3 separate regions of the Homo sapiens genome follow, and all the other regions are linked to region 1. The links are contacts of gene promoters, found by promoter capture Hi-C in human tissues and cell types (Jung and others, 2019). All regions are on one chromosome and are shown on one strand. Each heading gives the region's core, a stretch centred on a gene start or on the middle of the fragment in contact. The rest is flanking DNA. Distances are from core to core; before and after follow the strand shown.

Region 1 (4,462 bases), core at 1,034-3,533:
CACTCTGGGCCCTTAGCATTCTCACTGACCTATCCTCACCAAGGGTAGAAGGCCTCTTTTCTCCTAGATGTCACCGAGACAAGCCAGAGCTTTGTCTAATTTCTAGTTACTAAGCAGGTTACTAGTTCTGACATAACCAGGATCTCAGTGTCTAATTTGTTTCCTGCCCCTTAACCTTGCCTGGGAAATCCCATACCCTTTTTACCCTCCTTCACCAAGAGAAGCTTTCAGGTAGAGCTCTTATTTCATAACTTAGGACACTGTCATGGGCTTGAGGTTTAGCCACAAGGTAGAAAAGCACACCACAATTTACCAATTGAATTGGGTGTAGGTAAATGTCCTCATAATCTTTCTATCCCCAAAGGGCTATTCCAGTGACCTAATGAACTGAAGGGCTAGGGCCAGGTACCAGGAAGCTGAGGGGTGGGATGTCGGGCAGGCAGGCACATCATGGAAGCACTTACTCTTTTTGTAGAGAATCTTCACCCTCTCCCTCTTGCTGGAAATGTTCCCCAAAGCCACCTGCACCTTGACCAGGCCGTCAGCCACCTGTAAGGGAAGTGGTGGTTAATTCCAAGATATACTACCTGGCTCAAGGCTTGGAAAAGTTAAAGAACCCTCATTCTCCCAGACTCTCAAACCTGAATCCCAGTAATCTAGGTTGGCCTCCCTTCTCTAATATTAAAGGAGATGCAGCCCCACCTTCCAGGAATCCTTAAAGTGGAGAGAGAGAATCATGTACTCCTTGGGGAGTTTCAAGTCTGATGGGGAAGATAACGAACTATTTTAGAGTCTATGGAATATAGAGTATACACAATATATTTTCTGGTTCCTAAGTCCTGGGTTTGGGCATGAGAAACACAAGCATCCTCATTCAAGCCTTCATGACCTCTAGATTGGCTGGCCTACCTCTAGCCCTATCCCCTCCACATCAAATTTGGTGTGGGAGATGGAAGAGTCCAAACAACTGGGATCCCAATGATGGTGCAATCACTGAATTAGGGAATACAGAAGAGAATCAGGTTAGGGGAGAGAAAGAGTACAGTTAAGGGCATACAGATTGAGTTTGAAATGACTATTGGATATCCAAGTGGAAAAGTCCAGTAGACAACTAGACATAAAAGTCTGGTTCTCAGAACAGAAATCTGGACCAGAGATATACATTTGAGACATATTGACATGTAAATAGTAATTGACACCATGGAAGCGAGTGAGCCTACCTAAAGTTTAGGGGTAGAATGTAAAGAATCCCAATATTAAAGGGTCAAATAGAGGAGGAGACTAAGGAAGTGACTGCACTCACCCAGTTTTTAGGGTAGAGGATGAGGAATGCCAGGGGGGAGGCAAATAACACTGAGAAGCAGCCGTAAGAGGTAGAAGGAAAACCAGGAGGGTCAGCGTCATAGATCCCAAAGGAAGAGAATGTTTGAGAAGTTAGTTCTGAAATGGGAGCACAGTCTGCTAGTGACAACTAATTCCTCATTTAGTGTACAAACAGACATCATTACCTTGGACGCACTTAGCTCCAGGACATGCCTGACACGCCATCAGAAGTTCTTCAATAAAAGATCTTCCCATAGTAGAAAGGGGAGGAGAGGGCACCTGAGCTTCGTAGTTGTCAAAATTCTGTCACTGGTATAAAGCAGTGCTAGTCCACATCTGAATACCCAGTACCCAGTCTCTTCCCTTCCTAATCCTGGTCCTTTCAGACCTCACTTCTCACCCTTTGGCGTTTTCCTTATCCACCTCTGCTCTGCCTCCCCAGGGGTCCCATGGACCTCTTCCTGCACAATTCATTTAGCAATTAATTATGCAGGGCTCTATGACGGGCCTTCCTATCGTGGACTTCAGCTCTTATTGAAACTCTCATTAGTCAGCTTCTCGTGTCAGGTCTCCCCAACTATAGCTCGCGAGGGCAAGGGCGGAGTCTCAGCTACAGTAGGTACGGAGCCCACTCTCAGGCTGGCTTAACCACCCGCAGAGCCCCCTATGACAGTGGACCCCGATGGTCCAATCAGCTCTGGGAGGTCCCGGACCTTTGTTATTTCAAAGGCCGGGCTGCGGAGAACAGGACTGGAGCGGTTGCATCCCGAGGGCCAGGACAGTGGACCGCTCTTGCTCTGCTCCAGAAAGGGACTACCGGACCAGACTACTCACCTTCCGTGAGCCGCGCGCCCCGCCCGGCCCGTACACCCAGCGCTCCAGCTCTTCCACTCGGGCCTGTAGCCGCTGCAAGTCAGTCAGACCCGCCATCGCTACTACCGACCCACCTCGGCCAGGAAACAGCCAGAGGGCGGGACGTCAGTCCAAATAAGAAGGCTAGCCAATCCGAGTGCACGAGCGGCCCTTTATGCAGGAAGTGACGCCATGATTCAGCCCTTCAGTGCCGGAAGTTACTCCTCGGAGCTGTCAAAAGCTGATTACCTTGGCAACGGCTCTGTCCCATCCCTCCCCTGGCTTCCAGTGCCTGGTTGTCAAGATAACCTTTGCTTTTCGGGTACCAAAGAGCTTTCCCCACGCCATTCCCTGAGTTTGCACGTGTTCCAGGATAGGTCCATTCCCATAGATACATCATTAGGAGGCTCCGTGAGTTACCATAAACTTTTGGAGTCTTCTAAGGTTCAGTTGATTAAGTAACTTGCCCAAGGCCACCCAGCACTATAGGGACAGAAACAGGACTTGAACTCAGGCTGTCTGATTCAAGAGACGGAGCTCTTCTATTCTCACGAAACTTTGCTATTCTGCCTTAACCTCTGAAAGCCCCTGGCCCAAGGCAGCCTATGTTCCACATCATTCCTCCCCACCTCCCATACCCAAACAAGAAAGGAGGCATCAGAGAGGGAGGGACCGCAGCTTTATTGTCTAGATGTGACCTGAGGGATGTCTCTTTCACAGTACCCCAACCCAACCTTTCACTTGGCTCCTGAAGAGAAGCAGGGCTGACTCAAAAGGGTAGGGTCCTAGAGATGACATTGACAGAGGGAACACATGAGGAGATGATGGGGTTACTGGAGGAAGAACCCTTTGGTAGGTGCTGCTGGAATTGGCCAGGGAGGAGGTGCCCTCCCTTTACAATGAGGTAGGTGTAACATCAAAAGAAACTTTGGTTTTAAGTCCACATGGCATGGGAGGTGTCGTCCCCTCCCAGGGCTGGGTCCCAGAGTGGGCAGCCAGAAAGAATCAAAGCAGGGGGTCTCCTCCCCCCTCAGCAATGGGGCTGGGACTCTTAGTTTCAAGTAGGACCTCTCAGGGCAAGATGCTGGAAGGGGGCCCTGTGGAGGGTGGGGGTGCAGGGTTGGTTGGACCCTGGGAAGCTGGCACAGGCTGGCGGCGGGCAAAGAGGACACCTGGCAAAGGGGTGAGGAGATGGTAGAGGGCAAAAACAAGCAGGAGGGGGTAGGGTATGGAAACAGAAGAGGGGAACAAAAGTAAGTGTTCTGGTTGCTAGAACACTACACACGTACCCCTGCCACAAACCAATGAGGACAAGCTCCTTGGGTCAGTAAGAGACTCCATTGCTAATGTAGATACCTCAAACAGGTAAACAAGGAATATTTATGCTGATACATAGGCCCAAGACAAGGCAGACATCCCCTGGTACTCATGCCAGAGAGGTCATGCCTTGGATCCCATGCCATGTAGACACCCCCTTTAACCCATGCCAGTCTAGCAATCCCCTGAACTCCATGTTACTCATGCAAGTTTAGATATCCCTGAACTTCATGCTAGTAGAGGAAGTCTAAAATCCCCATGCCAGCCTAAATACCCCTGACCCCATGCCAGTGTAGACAGCCTGCAGTACCCATACCAGTGTAGACCACCCCGTTGATCTCTAGGGCCATGTTGATACTGCTGATGCCACTGCCTGCCAGATTAAGAGGCCCATCCAGCCGCTCTTCTGTCCAGGAGGGGGCAGAGGAATCACATTTTGGAGAATCAGACTTCTGACTTATTAATAGAATTTCCCCCCTCCATCCCCGTAGACAGCCCCCATTCCACTTCAGCCCCACACCTATACTCACACAGTTGTCTACAGAGGAATCTGTCTGCCCCGTCTCTAACACCTATCAGGTGATGGGTCAATCCTCCCTCAGTGTACAGTCCCGAAGCCCCCTCACAACAAGCCCCTCCTCACCCCTCAGGGGAACCTTGCCACGGGGCAGGAAACTGGGGGGCATGCAAGGTCGAGGTGGGTCCATAGGCCCCATCAGCACAGCTCTCTTCTCTGGGGGCTCCTCTGGTGCCAATTTCTCCCGTGTAGGTCCCAGTGCCAGGCCCACAGGCAGTGCCAGACAAGGGTTTGGAATTCCACTCTCCTCTAGAAGAACAGGTTATTCAGCTCCCCTGGCCAAACCAACCCATCTCTGCATTGGTTCTCCCCCAGGCCTGGGACCAAAAGAGGTAACTCAAGCTCATGTACCAATCTCTCATCCTTCATTCGATCTATCTTCCCATCCAGAGC
Region 2 (4,462 bases), core at 531-3,030, 1.1 Mb after region 1:
CACATCGCCTCACCTCAGGGCTGATCTGGGCAGGAATGCTGGAGAACTCAGGGTTGGACGCAAAGGCACTCAGATTGTCCACAGCCTCCAGCAGAGGGGCTGTTGCTGCTCGGCACTGGGCACGGTTCTCCTCTGTGAAGGCCCCATCTAGCGCCTAGAAGTGACAGAGAGGCTCTCAGGACTTGGGATGCAGTCATAGGGGGTATAGGAAGTGAAGTCCAGGTCTCCTTCCTGGGACTTACAGGATTTGGGGAGAGGCTAGGTGGTCAGTCTGAATAGAAAGAGCTTGGGCTCAGGCAGAGGGGATTTGGTAGAAGGCTTCAGAGAATAACTGGGGGACTCGGGGGAGAAGATAGGACAGGTCAGGGAGAGGCTGGGAATTCAAGCAATGGGAACCTTGATGGTCTTGACAAGATTAGCTGTGCTGTTGGCCACCTCCTTGGCTGACTGTACAAACTGGCGCTTGGCAGTAGGATTGGTGGTACGGGCAGAAGCCAGGCGACAGCTGTTACACAGTGCAGAGGTGTGTTTAGCCACAATGGTGGCTGCAGAGAGCACCTGAGGAGACACATGGAAGAGCCACGATGAGGGCAGGAAGGAGGTGTACATACCCAAGGAGGAGCCATTTTAGGGTCAGGGGATGGAGAGCAATACCCTGAGGAGTCAAAACAGGAATAACAGAGTCACCTGAAAAGTCAAGATCTAGGAGACAGAGATACCCAAAGATGAACTGGGCATGGGAGAGGAAAGACATACTAATGGAGAAACCATAAGAGGGCATGTGGGAGAGTAAGCTCGAACATCTACAGAGAAGTTGTGAATTTAGCAGTAACTGATAAATGATGAGACCCATGGCAGAAAAAGACAGTTACCCAAAAAGAAGCTGTGTGTGCAAGGTCAGAGATGGGTCCCTGCCCTCTTTCCCACATGCCTCACCTCCCTCTACTCCACGGGGTCGGTCTGCCCTTTCCCAGACTCGCCTGTGGTCCCTGTTCCCTTGAGTTACCTGGGCCTGGGTACAGCCAGGCTCTCCCAAACTCTGGCAGGCCATCTGAATTGCCTGGTTTGCACGGGCAAACTGTGTGGGCTCCACTAGCCCTTGCTGTCCAGCTTGGCTATTGGGGTCAGAGACACCAACCAGATATGCAGCCTGGGAAGAGAAAAGGGGGTGGGGGTGAGGAATAAAGATTGCAGGTGGGAAATGAATAGTGATAGTAGGGACAAAAGAGAGCAGAGGTAAGTTTAGAGAATAGGGCTTATTTTCCAGAGTTCTCCATGAGTGGAGATACATTAGCAAACAATGGTTACACTATAAAGAAGAAAAAAAATACTCTCCTGTTTTCATTAAGTATATTCAAGCATTTCAGAAGATTAAAAAAGTTAATAAAAAGGAAAACTACATAGCAAGGGTTTTTATCCAATCTCTATTTAGATATGTTTGTGTATGTTGGGTCTTAGAGTGAAAAGTATGGCTTACTGTAAGTAGCAGTAAAACGTTTGAGAGCCATATATAAATACACACCTTTGTGCACACAAGCAAAGCCTCTTTTAAAGACAGTTCAAAACTGATGAAGGTTATTAGGCTAATTCACATTTATAGCACCTCCATGCGTCAGATATTTGGAAAGGAAGGGAGGGGTTAAAAAGCCATTTTTATGATGGAAAGAACATCCTAATGTTTGATTCATACTTCAATCAATACACAGTAGCTTTGCTTTTTCCTCTATGCATTTTCAGAAGGTGGGGGGAAAAAAACCAAACAAACAACAAAGAGGTTTAGTGAAACCCTGTCTCTACTAAAAATACAAAAATCAGACGGGTGTGGTGGCAGGCGCCTGTAGTCCCAGCTACTCGGGAGGCTGAGGTAGGAGAATCACTTGAACCCGGGAGGCGGAGGTTGCAGTGAGCCGAGATTATGCCTCTGCACTCCAGCCTGGCGACAGAGCGAGACTCCGTCTCAAAAAACAAACAAACAAAAAACCAAAAAAACAAAAAAACAAAATCAAACAAGCCATCTAGAGCAAGGCGCCTATTCTGACAGGGCACAGGGAGGTGGTGGAGATGGAGGGCTAGGATGGTAGGCTTTCAGGGAAAATAGTCTGAAGTGAACTCTTATGATGCCAGTTTGTTTTAAGGATTCATATACTAAAGCAAAATACTTTACAGCTAATAGGTAGTTTTATACTTGATAATGTGGGAAAAGGCAAAGTTAAGTGATAACTCAAGTAACTGGAAATTTTGTCACTAGTACTATTTTAAGAAAGTAGTGATTGGCCGGGCGCGGTGGCTCACGCCTGTAATCCCAGCACTTTGGGAGGTCGAGACGGGCGGATCACGAGGTCAGGAGATCGAGACCATCCTGGCTAACACGGTGAAACCCCGTCTCTACTAAAAATACAAAAATTAGCCGGGCATGGTGGCGCGCGCCTGTAGTCCCAGCTACACGGGAGGCTGAGGCAGGAGAATGGCGTGAACCCGGGAGGCGGAGCTTGCAGTGAGTCTAGATCGCGCCACTGCACTCCAGCCTGGGCGACAGAGCGAAACTCGGTCTCAAAAAAAAAAAAAAAAAAAAAAAAAAAAGAAAGTAGTGATTACAGGCCAGGCGCGGTGGCTCACGCCTGTAATTCCAGCACTTTGGGAGGCCGAGGCAGGTGGATCACGAGTCAGGATATCGAGACCATCCTGGCTAACATGGTGAAACCCTGTCTTTACTAAAAAAAAAAAAAAAAATACAAAAAATTAGCCGGGTGTGGTGGTGAGCGCCTGTAGTCCCAGCTACTTGGAAGGCTGAGGCAGGAGACTAGCGTGAACCCGGGAGGCGGAGCTTGCAGTGAGCCTAGATCACGCCATTGCACTTCAGCCTGGGCGACAGAGCGAAACGCTGTCTCAAAAAAAAAAAAAAAAAAAAAGAAAGTAGTAATAACATGAAAAAATAGTTTGTATAAGCTAATTAGTATATTTTGAGAAAGCCAGCTGGAAAAGGCCTCACGGTTGGGCAGTGTAATCCTAACCAAAGTACCAGGGTTCAGGAATTACAGAAATCAGAACTGCTGGTGTTCAGTAATTGCTGACAAGTGTCTCCACTTCAGGAGGAGGACAACCCAGATTCCATAGAGTTGGCTTTGCAAACATAAACTTCTTGATTTATCTACAGGTATGTCAGGCTGAGAGAAAATGGGGTAAAGAAAGTAGGGGCCATTCAAAGAACCCATCTCAGGAAAATAACCTGTGCAGCTGCCTCGGTGAAGCCACAAAGTGCCTTTGAGGCTGTGGAAATGGCATCTCCAAACTCTGGCAGGTTTCCGTTCTTGGCATTTTGGGAGATGCCAGTCATGGCCTCGCCCAGCACCTGAGGAACAGAGGACATCAGGGGAGTCAGAGCATGTCCTCAGAACCCCAGGGCAGCATCTGGTTAGCTCCATCCTACTGCCCTCTCTCCTCCGAGTTCCTGGCTGTGCTGACCTTTGAGTTCTCCATTACACTGTCCAGGCAACCAAAGTAGGACATGTCATTGATGGGCTGGACTGGGTTCTCCAGGAGTTCCCGGACCGTCTGTGTAGGGGGAGGGCAAAGTGAGATCCAAGACACCTCCCTCAGGCCCAAAACCAGAACACTTCCCTCAACCTCAATGCCATCAGCCTGCCATGTGTCTACCTCCAATTCCCGCAGGGCGTTATCACACTCCTTCTGGCCGGGTGCCTGCTGGGTGCACATAGTGATGAGCTGATTGATGCTGTCAGTTACTGCCCTGGGAGTGACAGAAAGTTGAGTGAAAAGGTGAATAGGTCATCATTCCTGGGTCCTATGTAAGTATTTATCTTTTGCCTATAACCATTCCTAAGCCAAGAAGCTCTCATGAACTGCCTGCTCCCCAGTCTCTCTCACACAGTCCAGGGCTGGGCTTCTCAGCAACTACTTACCTGGCAGCTGCAGCCAGCTGACTCTTGAGGTTAGGGGCAGCAGGGTCCGTGGACAGGGCCTTGGCAGCCAGAAGAAGTTTGCTTGAAGACATGGAGATGCCCTTCAAGTTGGACACAACTTGGGCTCGGTCCTCCTGGCTCTGTTGAAGGTGACAAGGTCAATGCATTGTCCTGTCCTTTCTTATCTGTCTCTAAAAGGGATCTTCTTTCCCAGACACTCAAGTAGTGCTAGAGACTGGGGAGGGAAGGGAGCCAGGAGCAAGTCAGGACTGGTCACTCAACTGCCTCCTATCTAACCCTTAGTGGGAACCATTCAACCAGACCCTCTGCCTCTTCATACCGGAGCCTGGCCTGCCATCTCCACACCAGCTTCCAGGAAGGTGCTGAAGTCCTGTCCAAATCGGCCTGAGGCTCGAGCCAGGTCCTGAGGGGTTCCCCGAGAGGCCTGCACCAGTTCTGTGGCTGCCTGATTCAGCCCAGCAGCAGCTTCATTCAACCGGCTCTGAGCTTCTTGAAATGTCCCAGTGCTAGGAGGAAGCTGC
Region 3 (4,462 bases), core at 1,333-3,832, 1.1 Mb after region 1:
ATAAAGAATCACCCTTTGGAGCTTCAGGTCTGAGGCTGGAGATGGGCTCCCTCCAGTGCAGGAGGGATTGAAGCATGAGCCAGCGCTCATCTTGATAATAACCATGAAGCTGACAGACACAGTTACCCGCAAACGGCTGCCTACAGATTGAAAACCAAGCAAAAACCGCCGGGCACGGTGGCTCACGCCTGTAATCCCAGCACTTTGGGAGGCCAAGGCAGGTGGATCACGAGGTCAAGAGATCAAGACCATCCTGGCCAACATGGTGAAACCCCATCTCTACTAAAAATACGAAAAAATAGCCAGGCGTGGTGGCGGGTGCCTGTAATCCCAGCTACTCGGGAGGCTGAGGCAGGAGAATGGCATGAACCCGGGAGGCAGAAGTTGCAGTGAGCCGAGATCGTGCCACTGCACTCCAGCCTGGGCAACAGAGCGAGACTCTTGTCTCAAAAAAAAAAAAAAAAAAGAAAACCAAGCAAAAACCAAAATGAGACAAAAAAAACAAGACCAAAAAATGGTGTTTGGAATTGTCAAGGTCAAGTCTGGAGAGCTAAACTTTTTCTGAGAACTGTTTATCTTTAATAAGCATCAAATATTTTAACTTTGTAAATACTTTTGTTGGAAATCGTTCTCTTCTTAGTCACTCTTGGGTCATTTTAAATCTCACTTACTCTACTAGACCTTTTAGGTTTCTGCTAGACTAGGTAGAACTCTGCCTTTGCATTTCTTGTGTCTGTTTTGTATAGTTATCAATATTCATATTTATTTACAAGTTATTCAGATCATTTTTTCTTTTCTTTTCTTTTTTTTTTTTTTTACATCTTTAGTAGAGACAGGGTTTCACCATATTGGCCAGGCTGCTCTCAAACTCCTGACCTTGTGATCCACCAGCCTCGGCCTCCCAAAGTGCTGGGATTCATTTTTTCTTTTTAATTTGCTCTGGGCTTAAACTTGTGGCCCAGCACTTTATGATGGTACACAGAGTTAAGAGTGTAGACTCAGACGGTCTTTCTTCTTTCCTTCTCTTCCTTCCTCCCTTCCCTCCCACCTTCCCTTCTCTCCTTCCTTTCTTTCTTCCTCTCTTGCTTCCTCAGGCCTCTTCCAGTTGCTCCAAAGCCCTGTACTTTTTTTTGAGTTACGTCTTATGGGAAGGGCCTGCACTTAGCGAAGAAGTGGTCTCAGAGTTGAGTTACCTTGGCTTCTGGGAGGTGAAACTGTATCCCTATACCCTGAAGCTTTAAGGGGGTGCAATGTAGATGAGACCCCAACATAGATCCTCTTCACAGGCTCAGAGACTCAGGTCCCAGGACTGGACATATCTGCACTCCTGCCCTCTGACTTCAGCCGCTACTTCCAATATGAGGGGTCTCTGACTACACCGCCCTGTGCCCAGGGTGTCATCTGGACTGTGTTTAACCAGACAGTGATGCTGAGTGCTAAGCAGGTGGGCCTGGGGTGTGTGTGGACACAGTGGGTGCGGGGGAAAGAGGATGTAAGATGAGATGAGAAACAGGAGAAGAAAGAAATCAAGGCTGGGCTCTGTGGCTTACGCCTATAATCCCACCACGTTGGGAGGCTGAGGTGGGAGAATGGTTTGAGCCCAGGAGTTCAAGACAAGGCGGGGCAACATAGTGTGACCCCATCTCTACCAAAAAAACCCCAACAAAACCAAAAATAGCCGGGCATGGTGGTATGCGCCTAGTCCCAGCTACTCAAGGAGGCTGAGGTGGGAAGATCGCTTGATTCCAGGAGTTTGAGACTGCAGTGAGCTATGATCCCACCACTGCCTACCATCTTTAGGATACATTTATTTATTTATAAAAGAAATCAAGAGGCTGGATGGGGAATACAGGAGCTGGAGGGTGGAGCCCTGAGGTGCTGGTTGTGAGCTGGCCTGGGACCCTTGTTTCCTGTCATGCCATGAACCCACCCACACTGTCCACTGACCTCCCTAGCTCCACACCCTCTCTGACACCCTGTGGGGACCTGGTGACTCTCGGCTACAGCTGAACTTCCGAGCGACGCAGCCTTTGAATGGGCGAGTGATTGAGGCCTCCTTCCCTGCTGGAGTGGACAGCAGTCCTCGGGCTGCTGAGCCAGGTACAGCTTTGTCTGGTTTCCCCCCAGCCAGTAGTCCCTTATCCTCCCATGTGTGTGCCAGTGTCTGTCATTGGTGGTCACAGCCCGCCTCTCACATCTCCTTTTTCTCTCCAGTCCAGCTGAATTCCTGCCTGGCTGCTGGTGAGTCTGCCCCTCCTCTTGGTCCTGATGCCAGGAGACTCCTCAGCACCATTCAGCCCCAGGGCTGCTCAGGACCGCCTCTGCTCCCTCTCCTTTTCTGCAGAACAGACCCCAACCCCAATATTAGAGAGGCAGATCATGGTGGGGATTCCCCCATTGTCCCCAGAGGCTAATTGATTAGAATGAAGCTTGAGAAATCTCCCAGCATCCCTCTCGCAAAACAATCCCCCCCCTTTTTTTAAAGATAGGGTCTCACTCTGTTGCCCAGGCTGGGGTGTTGTGGCACGATCATAGCTCACTGCAGCCTCGAACTCCTAGGCTCAGGCAATCCTTTCACCTTAGCTTCTCAAAGCACTGGGACTGTAGGCATGAGCCACTGTGCCTGGCCCCAAACGGCCCTTTTACTTGGCTTTTAGGAAGCAAAAACGGTGCTTATCTTACCCCTTCTCGTGTATCCACCCTCATCCCTTGGCTGGCCTCTTCTGGAGACTGAGGCACTAGGGGCTGCCTGAGAACTCGGGGCAGGGGTGGTGGAGTGCACTGAGGCAGGTGTTGAGGAACTCTGCAGACCCCTCTTCCTTCCCAAAGCAGCCCTCTCTGCTCTCCATCGCAGGTGACATCCTAGCCCTGGTTTTTGGCCTCCTTTTTGCTGTCACCAGCGTCGCGTTCCTTGTGCAGATGAGAAGGCAGCACAGGTATTACACTGACCCTTTCTTCAGGCACAAGCTTCCCCCACCCTTGTGGAGTCACTTCATGCAAAGCGCATGCAAATGAGCTGCTCCTGGGCCAGTTTTCTGATTAGCCTTTCCTGTTGTGTACACACAGAAGGGGAACCAAAGGGGGTGTGAGCTACCGCCCAGCAGAGGTAGCCGAGACTGGAGCCTAGAGGCTGGATCTTGGAGAATGTGAGAAGCCAGCCAGAGGCATCTGAGGGGGAGCCGGTAACTGTCCTGTCCTGCTCATTATGCCACTTCCTTTTAACTGCCAAGAAATTTTTTAAAATAAATATTTATAATAAAATATGTGTTAGTCACCTTTGTTCCCCAAATCAGAAGGATGGTATTTGAATTTCCTATTACTGTTATTAGCACGAATTTAGTGGTAATGCATTTATTCTATTACAGTTCGGAGGTCAGCAGTCAGATGTCAGTAGGGCTTGTTCCTCCTTCCACACATCACTCCAATCTCTTGCTCCCATTGTCACAACTCCTACCTCCACATTTGACCTCCTTGTCTCCTCAAGAACCCTTGGGATTACACTGGGCCTAACTAGATAACCAAGGATAATCATCCCATCTCAAAATCTTAATCACCAAGTTTCTTCCCATGTAAGATAAGAACAATGCACAGGATTAGAACATGGACATCTTTGGAGAAGGGGAATTATTCTGCCTACCACAGATGCTATCAGGAAGAGGACAGAAATGACTGATACTGTTGGGATGGCTGTGTGTGTGTGTGTGTTTGTGTGTGTGTGCAGTGTATGTGTTGAGGGGTAGGGCAGACAGCAGCCCTAGGCTTAACATCACACTCAGGCTTTTGGGTTTTCACCCTGCTCAAGGAAAATGTGTCACTTCTTGCAGTTTTTGCTTCAGGACGTGCTGTCTGGCCCAGCTGGCTGCTGGAACAGGGCGGTGCTATGGATGGCAGCTCCTCTGCCTGTAGGGCACAAGGCCCACGATGTCCCCCAGTCCTGTCAGACTCCCTGCTTCACAGAGCCTGTTCACAGCCCCTCCTCAATGAGCCCAGGCCCTCCATCCCAGTTTCCCCTGAAAAGGAAGTCCCAATGCAGAGCAAGGACCCAGGCCCTGCTCATTCAGGGGTCCCTCAAACTCCATTGCCAACACCAAAGAAAGGATTAAAGGGCCTTGAGAGGCTAGTAACATCAGTTTTATTGGGTTGGGGTGGCAACCATAGCCTGGCTGGGGGTGGGGCTGGCCCTCACAGGTTGTTGAGTTCCAGCAGGGTCTGGTCCAAGGTCTGGTGAATCTCGACGTTCTCCTCCTTGGCACTGGCCAAGGTCTCTGTGAGGGGAAGCAGCAGGTGAGGGAGAAGGGAGACACAAGGGGGAGACGTGGGGAGGCAGGGCCAGGGGAAGGTGACATATAGACATGGAGTGGGTCAAGGAAGACACATGCATTCACGGACCTCAGGGCCCCTTGGCAGGGACAAACAGATGGACTGACTAGGATGAGGGGAACAGGACGGACGTGGATGCCTC

What was found. Contacts are between HindIII fragments. The study calls those that stand out against the background at their distance.
Region 2: a fragment that was not itself captured here is called in contact with the fragment with the promoter of DCTN3 in region 1 in 1 of the 25 tissues and cell types used here (stomach).
Region 3: a contact is called between a fragment that was not itself captured here and the fragment with the promoter of DCTN3 in region 1, in 1 of the 25 tissues and cell types used here (lymphoblastoid cells).

Annotation. Positions count from the first base shown.
Region 1 is chr9:34,618,212-34,622,673 of GRCh38, forward strand. DCTN3 (dynactin subunit 3) reads right to left here and starts at 2,284. Exons shown (of 7, transcript NM_007234.5): 1 at 2,158-2,284; 2 at 465-549. The coding sequence starts at 2,253. It overlaps ARID3C (AT-rich interaction domain 3C), which reads right to left. Exons shown (of 8, transcript NM_001017363.4): 6 at 4,136-4,318; 7 at 3,809-3,898; 8 at 2,838-3,347. The coding sequence ends at 3,247. The HindIII fragment of the contact is 3,867 bases long and covers 1-2,353 here.
Region 2 is chr9:35,707,335-35,711,796 of GRCh38, forward strand. TLN1 (talin 1) reads right to left here. Exons shown (of 57, transcript NM_006289.4): 29 at 4,261-4,458; 30 at 3,921-4,060; 31 at 3,655-3,748; 32 at 3,463-3,552; 33 at 3,227-3,349; 34 at 1,007-1,150; 35 at 397-558; 36 at 14-154. It overlaps MIR6852 (microRNA 6852), which reads right to left and starts at 3,407; the gene lies at 3,342-3,407. RefSeq lists an enhancer at 3,447-4,462. The HindIII fragment of the contact is 8,507 bases long and covers 1-4,462 here.
Region 3 is chr9:35,677,899-35,682,360 of GRCh38, forward strand. It overlaps CA9 (carbonic anhydrase 9), which reads left to right. Exons shown (of 11, transcript NM_001216.3): 7 at 1,287-1,444; 8 at 1,956-2,100; 9 at 2,215-2,241; 10 at 2,855-2,936; 11 at 3,067-3,261. The coding sequence ends at 3,127. It also overlaps a transcript of TPM2 not described here. Among named protein-coding and RNA genes, the nearest start is that of CA9, 6.2 kb to the left of the region's middle. The HindIII fragment of the contact is 4,289 bases long and covers 439-4,462 here.